Regions from separate parts of the Homo sapiens genome. Here regions 2 and 3 are each linked to region 1. The links are contacts of gene promoters, found by promoter capture Hi-C in blood cells and fetal thymus (Javierre and others, 2016). All regions are on one chromosome and are shown on one strand. Each heading gives the region's core, a stretch centred on a gene start or on the middle of the fragment in contact. The rest is flanking DNA. Distances are from core to core; before and after follow the strand shown. Region 1 holds the start of ERO1A (endoplasmic reticulum oxidoreductase 1 alpha). Region 2 overlaps TXNDC16 (thioredoxin domain containing 16). Region 3 overlaps TXNDC16 (thioredoxin domain containing 16).

Evidence for each region. The method cuts DNA at HindIII sites, captures the fragments that hold promoters and counts their contacts. A CHiCAGO score of 5 or more calls a contact.
Region 2: a fragment that was not itself captured here is called in contact with the fragment with the promoter of ERO1A in region 1 in 1 of 17 cell types (megakaryocytes); the score reaches 5.2 in megakaryocytes.
Region 3: a contact is called between a fragment that was not itself captured here and the fragment with the promoter of ERO1A in region 1, in 1 of 17 cell types (megakaryocytes). The highest score is 5.0, in megakaryocytes.

What each region holds. Positions count from the first base shown.
Region 1 is chr14:52,694,200-52,696,899 of GRCh38, forward strand. It overlaps ERO1A (endoplasmic reticulum oxidoreductase 1 alpha), which reads right to left and starts at 1,359. Exons shown (of 16, transcript NM_014584.3): 1 at 1,169-1,359. The coding sequence starts at 1,282. RefSeq lists enhancers at 884-1,385, 991-1,040 and a silencer at 1,291-1,830. The HindIII fragment of the contact is 13,242 bases long and covers 1-2,700 here.
Region 2 is chr14:52,533,398-52,536,097 of GRCh38, forward strand. All of the region lies in intron 6 of TXNDC16 (thioredoxin domain containing 16), which reads right to left. Among named protein-coding and RNA genes, the nearest start is that of TXNDC16, 18 kb to the right of the region's middle. The HindIII fragment of the contact is 882 bases long and covers 906-1,787 here.
Region 3 is chr14:52,481,221-52,483,920 of GRCh38, forward strand. TXNDC16 (thioredoxin domain containing 16) reads right to left here. Exons shown (of 21, transcript NM_020784.3): 13 at 1,602-1,745; 14 at 1,010-1,069. Among named protein-coding and RNA genes, the nearest start is that of TXNDC16, 70 kb to the right of the region's middle. The HindIII fragment of the contact is 2,463 bases long and covers 202-2,664 here.

The sequences.
Region 1 (2,700 bases), core at 109-2,608:
CTAATCAGAAGAAAAATGACCCTTTTCCTTTTAAGTACTTGATTGTGTGTCCTTTGTAATGATTGAAGGTAAAGGACTTTTCAATGTCTCAGTTGTAAAGTAGCAATTTTCTTTCAACTTCCCTTAGTTTCCTAGATAACACTCACCTCAACTCCCAAATCACTCAGCAAAACAACAAAATCCAAGAATGTAAAGTAGTGAAAGAGAAACCTTTCATAATATTTAAATGCATCTTTCCTTTGACATGGTATCATGCCCCTAAACACATAAAATGGTATTTCTGATAATAAATTAATAGCAAAATCCACTTAGGAATAACATGGATGCCTAACCCTTAATTTTGTATAAAACGTAATTTTTATCAACAGAGTCAACCAAAAAGTGGCTTTGACAAGAGTAATCACATTGAAATACTAGATACTGAAGATAATGGAAAACTGTAAGTTTCTCTCAATTTTTTGCTCAAGAAACCACATCTCTTACAGAAGGAAATGATCATAATCCGCTTGTAATTAAACTTGTGCACTGAAGAATAAGGACCTTCCTCCCAATTCGTACCAGCTTAACGGGTGTCACGATAAGAGAATCTCATTACATTCGAGAAAAAGAGCACACAGGACCAGAAACCAGAGGGCAACTGCAGTCCCAAAGACATCAGGTAGTTGGGCTTACACACAGAAAAACCGCAAGCAGCCATTCTTCCGCCTAACATCGAAATCTGAGATCAGCCCACAAACGTCTTAGCCAGAAAGGCTGGCGAAATGCACGCAGCACAGGTACTGGGTACACAAGTTCCTGGTCAAGAGAGAAGTGAGAAAGATCCAGGTTCTGTGAAAATAGCAAATACTGGCAGGGCATTATACACTGTGCACACTCTCCCCGGGCAGATAAGACCAACAAAGATGCATAAACCCACTCAACCGCGTGCACCCAACCCCTCTCCTGGTCCGAGGCACCGGAGGGCGCGGCGACGTCCAGGCTGCCGTGGAGGCCCGGTCCACGCCAAGCCAGACTCAGTCCCGGCCACCGGGCAGCAGCACCGGAGTCTCATTCCCGGTGGGAAGAGATGCAAGGACGCACCCCCAGCCGCTCACCCGCCAGGGCGTGCGGGACAGTGCACGCCGCGGAGGGCGCCGGGACCCTCAGCACCAACGCGCACATCGCTCACCTGGCAGAAGCACCTCTGTGCCGCTGTCTCCGGGGGCTGCTCCTCTCCGTGGCCCGAGCTGAGCAGCCACACGGCGCCCAGGAGGCCAAACAAGAATCCCCAGCCGCGGCCCATTGCAGCTCCGGCAGCTTGTCGCCCCACGCTTGGGAGGCCAGTCCGCACGCTCGGTCGCGGGCCGTGCGCCCTCAGATGAAGCCCGTGCGGGCCGGCCCCAGCGGCGCCCCACCTCCGGGCCGCCTCCCAGGCCCGCCTCGGCCCTCCTGCCTCTCAGCGATCGCCACCTCGCGACCCAGCCTGTGGACGTGCCGCGGCGCCCGCGCCGGCAGCCCGGGGCCTCGGACCGGTTCCTTCCCGCCGCGTGAGGCTGACGCACCGACCAGCTTCCCGGCTCGGCCCCGCCCGGTCCGCTGCGCCCGCGCCCGTCCCCGCCCCCGGCTCCCTGACGCCCCCGGCCTGGAGACGCAACCCGACGCGCACAACCCCAGACCCTGCGCGGGAGTCGGGGGTCCTTCCAGTTCCCAGAGCGAGAGCGAAAGCCGGAGGGGCCTGTGTTTTCCTGCGGGGTTGGGGGGCGGGGGGTGCCCGCCCCGCGCCGCCCCGCCCAGCCCCAGCCCGCTCACTCCCGGCCAATCCTTCCGTATCTCAATGCGAGACAATCAAATCGTACGAATTACGTGTCCACCGTGTTCCCGGCGGAGTCTTAAAGCTGAAAGGGATATTAGAGAGCATCTAGACCAGGGCAGCATATGTCATTTATATTTTTAGTAGCCACAGCAAAAGAGTAAAAATAACAGGTACATTTTATTTTTAAAATATTTTTATTTAACCCCGAATGTGCAAAATATTATTTCAAAATATAACCAACATTAAATTTATTCATAAGATATTTGACTTTTTTTGTCTTTGAAATCCAGTGTGTATTCGATGCGAACTAGACCCATTTCATAGTCAAATGTGGCTGGCTAGTGCCCACTGTATTAGACAGCGAGGGTGGAAGCCACCCGCTCATATCATAGGAAGAAACAGGCCTAGAGAAGTGAGGTAAGGTGAGCAAGGATTGGAGGTCCTCTGATACCCAGTCCTGGTCTTTTAACATTCAGAGTTGGGACTAGTCTATCCGCTTTTTTTTTTTCCAGACAGGGTCTCCCTGGGTCACCCAGGCTGGCCTGCAATGATGCGATCGCAGCTCACTGCAACCTCGAACTCCTGGGCTCAAGCGATCCTCCCACCTAAGCCTCCTGAGTAGCATGAACTACAGGCGTGCGCCACCACGCCTGGCTAATTTTATTTTTAGTAGAAACGAGGTTTCACCATGTTGCCCAGGCTGGTCTCAAACTCCTCAAGAGCGATTCTCCCGCCTCAGCCTCCCAAAGTGCTGGGATTACTTTTTTTTTTTTTTTCGAGGCGGAGTCTCGCTCTGTCGCCCAGGCTGGAGTGCAGTGGCGTCATCTTGGCTTACTGCAATCTCTGCCTCCCAGGTTCAAGAGATTCTCCTGCCTGAGCTTCCCCAGTAGCTGGGATTACAGGCGTAA
Region 2 (2,700 bases), core at 97-2,596, 160 kb before region 1:
ATCTACTCTACCTCCCTAGATTATACAACGGTCACAGAATGGTTTATACATGTGCTCAAACCCCATAGACATATCTCACATCCACCAGAAAGATCTCTCAAATACTAATCTGATCACATCACTTGCCTGCCTACAGCGCTTTGCTGGGCAATCAGGTGTTAAAGTAGTCAATCAGAACAACAAGCCAAACCAAAAGTAATAATCAAGGTTTCATTTACTTACTAGGAAAGTGCAAACAAGATGCAAAAAAGAGAGGTGCTGGCTCAACAATGTTAAATTTTTCATCCCTTGGAATGACCACAGGCAAGGGTCAGGTGGATACAGTGCAGACACAAGGTATCATCTCATTCCAAGGAGTCCCAAACAACAGGCCCCACTTCTTTATGGACCCATGGACTTGAGGGAACAAAAGGGGTGTGGGGTAAGAGCGGAAAGGCCCTGACTCAAAGATAAGAAAAGCACCTTAGCCAAGGGCTCTGGTAAGGAGGCCTCAAAATGGAGGTAGCGGGGCTAGGAATGCAGATGCACATATAAGCATAGGGGCCTGAAGGATTAGGAGAGGAATAGGCCTATGTCCTTGACCTCAATTTTCTCTAGAAAACTGCAATGTACTGCTTATGTGCCAAGTGTGGTATGGTGAGGGCAGCTTCCCCCTGTGAGGTTTGTCAGGCATAGCCTTGGAATATTGCATATGATCAGGCCTGAAAGATCACATAAGGATTTTGGCCTACAGCTGGACTCCTCACTTTTCAGTGGTTACCCAAAAGCCTAAACTTATACAGAGGGAAAACAAAAATTCCCTTCCTCTGACCCCATGTCTACTTTTCTACTCTTATCTCCTGCTTCACATTTTATACTCTGGCAAAACCACCACCTTCTCCCAACTACTTCTAACCTCTATGACAAGCTTGTCCAACCTGTGGCTCATGGGCTGCATGCAGCTCAGGACAGCTTTGAATATGGCCCAACACAAATTCGTAAACTTTCTTAAAACATTATGAGATGTTTCTGCAATTTTTTTTAAGCTCGTCAGCTATCATTAGTGTACTTTATGTGTGGACCAAGACAATTCTTCTTCCGATGTGGCCCAGGTAAGCCAAAAAAAAGATTGAACATGGCTGCTGTATGCCTTTGTCACAAAGTTCCTCTTGCTTTTCTCACCTTCCCCTTCTTCACCAAGCACTTACCCTTTAACATTCATCCCAACTGCCACTTCCTTCAGGAAGCCCACTTAATAAATATCCACCCTCATTCTAGACATGAATAACTACTCCCTTCTCTGTGGATCCATTAGCCCTTATGCATACATACTTCTACTATTTTACTTATCACATATTAATAATATTTTCTGTTTATCTGTCTGTGCAACACTAAATTCCTACAGAACAGAAGCCACATCCTATTCTGTTTTTTATAGCCAATGTCTAACAAGTGTCTGGCACACAGCAGGAACATGGGGAATAATCTATTTGTGGAATTCGTGTTCTATAAATCAGCATTAGTACAGCACTAAGAACAGGACACTACTAAAGCAGGACTGAATGAGCTGAGCCTCACGGAGTAACCAGTTTAGATAACAGGGTCCTCGGTCCTCTCCACATCTAGGGCCAGCTGTTTCAAAACCACTTTGTCATCAAGTTGTTCAATGTGGATATGCCACTCCAGGATTTGGTGTCAAATTTGGATTCATTCTTTATGAAAAGACTTCTTTTTCTGTTTCTTCACCCCCATTTCTGGGTCAAAGATAGTCATCAGGTATCCACCGGAAAAACAGCTGCTAACTAGTAAGCTTCCTGAGAACAAATGTCATATCTATTACTTGGACTTTTTGCTAAGCTTCACAGAACCCCCACCATCAAGATAGCTACCCCTCTGTCCCAGGAAAGGGATTCCAAGGAATTCCTTCCTCAAAAGACCATCTTCACTCATTACGATTGGCTCGTTAGTCTACAAGTATCAGGGCCCATGGTTGTCAGGAATTTCTAAAGGCCTTTTGTTAACATATTATTGGGACTGGAACATTTGTAAAGTGATAAGCACAACTTTTCACCTGTAAGTTTTGAATTTCCAGGAGTTAAACTACCAATTTTTGTAGGTGAGAGAGGAAGAGGAGACCCAAGCAGAAAAAGACAGCCAATGTCAGCAAAGGTCTTAGTGGACAACAGGCTTATAACATTAAATTAGAAAAGTCCATGTAAACCTGTGTCCTTAACAAGTCATATTTTCTAGCTCTGTTACCAAAGAGAATATCAGACTTAATTCAGGGGAAGAGTCCAAGAATGGACCCCAGATAGACCTAAATACCAGGCCTGGAGATTCCAGGCCAGAAAACTTAAACTTTCTCTCAGTAAACACTGAGGTATGTGTTGGGACAAACTCTTTCTGTACTAACTGAGCAAGCCCAGAGCTAGAGAATCCAGAAAGAAACCCAGCTGGGATAAGAAGAAAGCCAGGTACTTTAAAAATCCCAGTGAGAATAACAAAGATGAGTGGTGCATGCCTATAGGTCCCAGCTACTCGGGAGGCTGAGGTGGGAGGATCGCTTGAGCCTGGGAGGTGGAGGTTGCAGTAAGCCAATATCACGCCACTGTGCTCCAGCCTGGGAGACAAAGTGAGACTCCATCTCAAAACAAAAAACAAAAACAAAAAAAAAACAAAGATGAGCTTCCTACCTGGTACTATGGTCTAAATGTTTATGTC
Region 3 (2,700 bases), core at 183-2,682, 210 kb before region 1:
AGGCCACAAATTGGGTGCAGCACAGTATATACTGCTCAGGTGATGAGTGCACCAATATCTCACAAATCACCACCAAAGAATTTACTCATGTAACCAAACACCACCTGTTCCCCAGTAACCTATGGAAATAAAAAAAAATTTTAAAAAAGGAATGGTACACTTAGGGTTGAGTGTCTAGAATCAATTTCTTGAGTTTTCAAAAGCTTCAATGTATAAATAAGTTGTACATCAGTACATAGTTTCCACTAAATGAAACAAAATTTATGAAACTCTATTATTCATTTATCCAACAATTATTGAAAACCAGATATTCTGCAATGTAAGGCAATATGCCAAGCCCAGTAAGCTGATATAAGGCACACTACCTAACCATAAGGAACTTACATCAAGCACACCTAATCCATTATTACCTCTCTTACTAACAGGCCTCCCTCATTTTCCCCTATGTCTTTGCTGAGATGGTAGCACAGATATTTTCAGTTAAAGTCCATTCCTTGGATCTTTATTTGCCCACTATTAAATGAGGTTTCACAGGATGGTTAACATAAAAAGATCCTGGATATTAAAAAGCATTCCATCCATGAGGAGTAAACTATATAGTTTCAAGGACACGGGGATTTTTGATCTCTCATTAGACCATGAGACTGGGTCTTGAATCTGCCAAATTTTTATTTCCAGTATTTAACTGGAGTAACTGGCACAGAGTAGGCACTCATAAATGCTTGCTGAATGACTGACTTAAACCAAAAAGGTTGTTGTATTAACTGTGTAGCCACAAGTACTAAATACATAGGCTTTCTACTTTCTACTAAAGACAGTTCTATGAAGACAAATCAAAGTGAATGCTCCTAAGCACTCTTGAAACTCCTGGTTCATTAACTTAACCCTGGAGACACAAACATAGTAACTGAAATTTTATGTGGTTTTCTATATTTTTTGCATGACATAGTTTTACAAATAGCTACAGCTTAGAATCAGAATAATAAGCATGCATAGCACAGTACACTACCTTTCAGTTTAACTGCCACATCAATATAGGATTGCAAAAATGCCATGGATACTGCTTGCCCTATATGAAAATTAAAAATTCAACAGATATTACATGTATATCTACAAAGCATCCACACTGATATGTAACAAATATACAGATTTATGAGGTTTCCCAAAATTATTGTTAATCAGAAATATTCTACTATACATTTCTCAACATAGTCCAACCACTTAAGAGAGTTTCAAATGCAACTGATTTTCCGCACTTGTACTGCAAGGAATATAGCTAAATGGCTATGATTTGAAGATAAAAGCAATATACTTACTATAAATCTATAATAACTGTTAATATGTTAAAAATCATTAGCGTGAGTCACAATTTTTCAAAATTAATGAACATCTAGTTTAATCATTCACCTTTAATTTGTAAATCAGATATAAATCAATTGCACAATCCCAGAATCAGAAGTAAATGCTTCAATGCACACAGTCTACTTGAGACATACGAAAGCAATTTCATTTTACAACATGCAATACATGGAATGCCAAAAATTAAATCTGGGTTTTTAAATGTCCTAATATGTAACAGTCCTCTAAAGGCTCATACTCACAACCAGCATAGAAGAGTACTATGCTGTCAGAAGCCATCACTGTTGCATTAAATGTTTCTTCTGTTAGTTCCACTGTAAGTTCCAAAGGTAATTTTCTCTTCCTATCTCTGAAAACAGTTTCTGCCACTTCATCATCCTGAACATCTAAAATGTTGGAAAAGAAATTAATTTAAATATTGATGTATAATGAAAACTATTTAAGCTCTTCTCATAGGAAGCATATAATAATTCAGTACTTTATACAAACTTTTGAATTCATCCTATCTTAATAGTTAGGATGCATGATATTTAGAAAACTTTGCAGTTGCTTAACTGACTCTGAGATGCTTCCTGACCTAGAAGTTGGGAAGTTTTAGTCAATTTCAAAATTAAAATTTGTTCTACAAAGAATATTAATAGTGCCATTTTGTTTATTTTGCCTCTACTATATGCCAAGCATTATGACAGGCACTAGGAAAACTGGTAAACAAAACAGACATAGTCCTGACCACATGGAACTTCTATCTATGGAAAAGTCAGATAAACTGATCACTGAATAAATATATAATTATAAATTATGATCAATTTATGAAGAAAGGTAAAGGATACACTGAGAGATTATAACAGGGCTATTTAGATTGGGAAGCCCAAAGTCTGCCAGGTAGAGAATCAAGAAAAGAATGTTTTAGACAAAGACAATAACATATACGAAAGCTCTGAGACATAAAAGAGTTGAGCACATACAAGGCTGAGGGAAGGCAAATTTGACTAAGACAAGATGGGGCTGAAAGAATAAACAGCATGAGAAAACTCTAGGCTAGGCAGTGGCTAGATCATAAGAGGTCACATGAGCCAAGAAGTCTGGATTTTATCCAAAAAGCCTCAAGTTATGAGTGGATTCTGAATATGTGAAACCCTTCCTTTAGATAGACCAATCAATAGACTGATAGATTCATCCATCCATCCATCCATCCAACCATCCATGTACCTTCAAAAATACATTTGGATTCATAAATATTCTGTTGGAAGTTTGTAGAGATTGTACGGTAAGACAGATGGAGCATATAACTTGATTAAAGGATAAAGCTTCTTTATGAACATGAAAACATGAACATGAAAA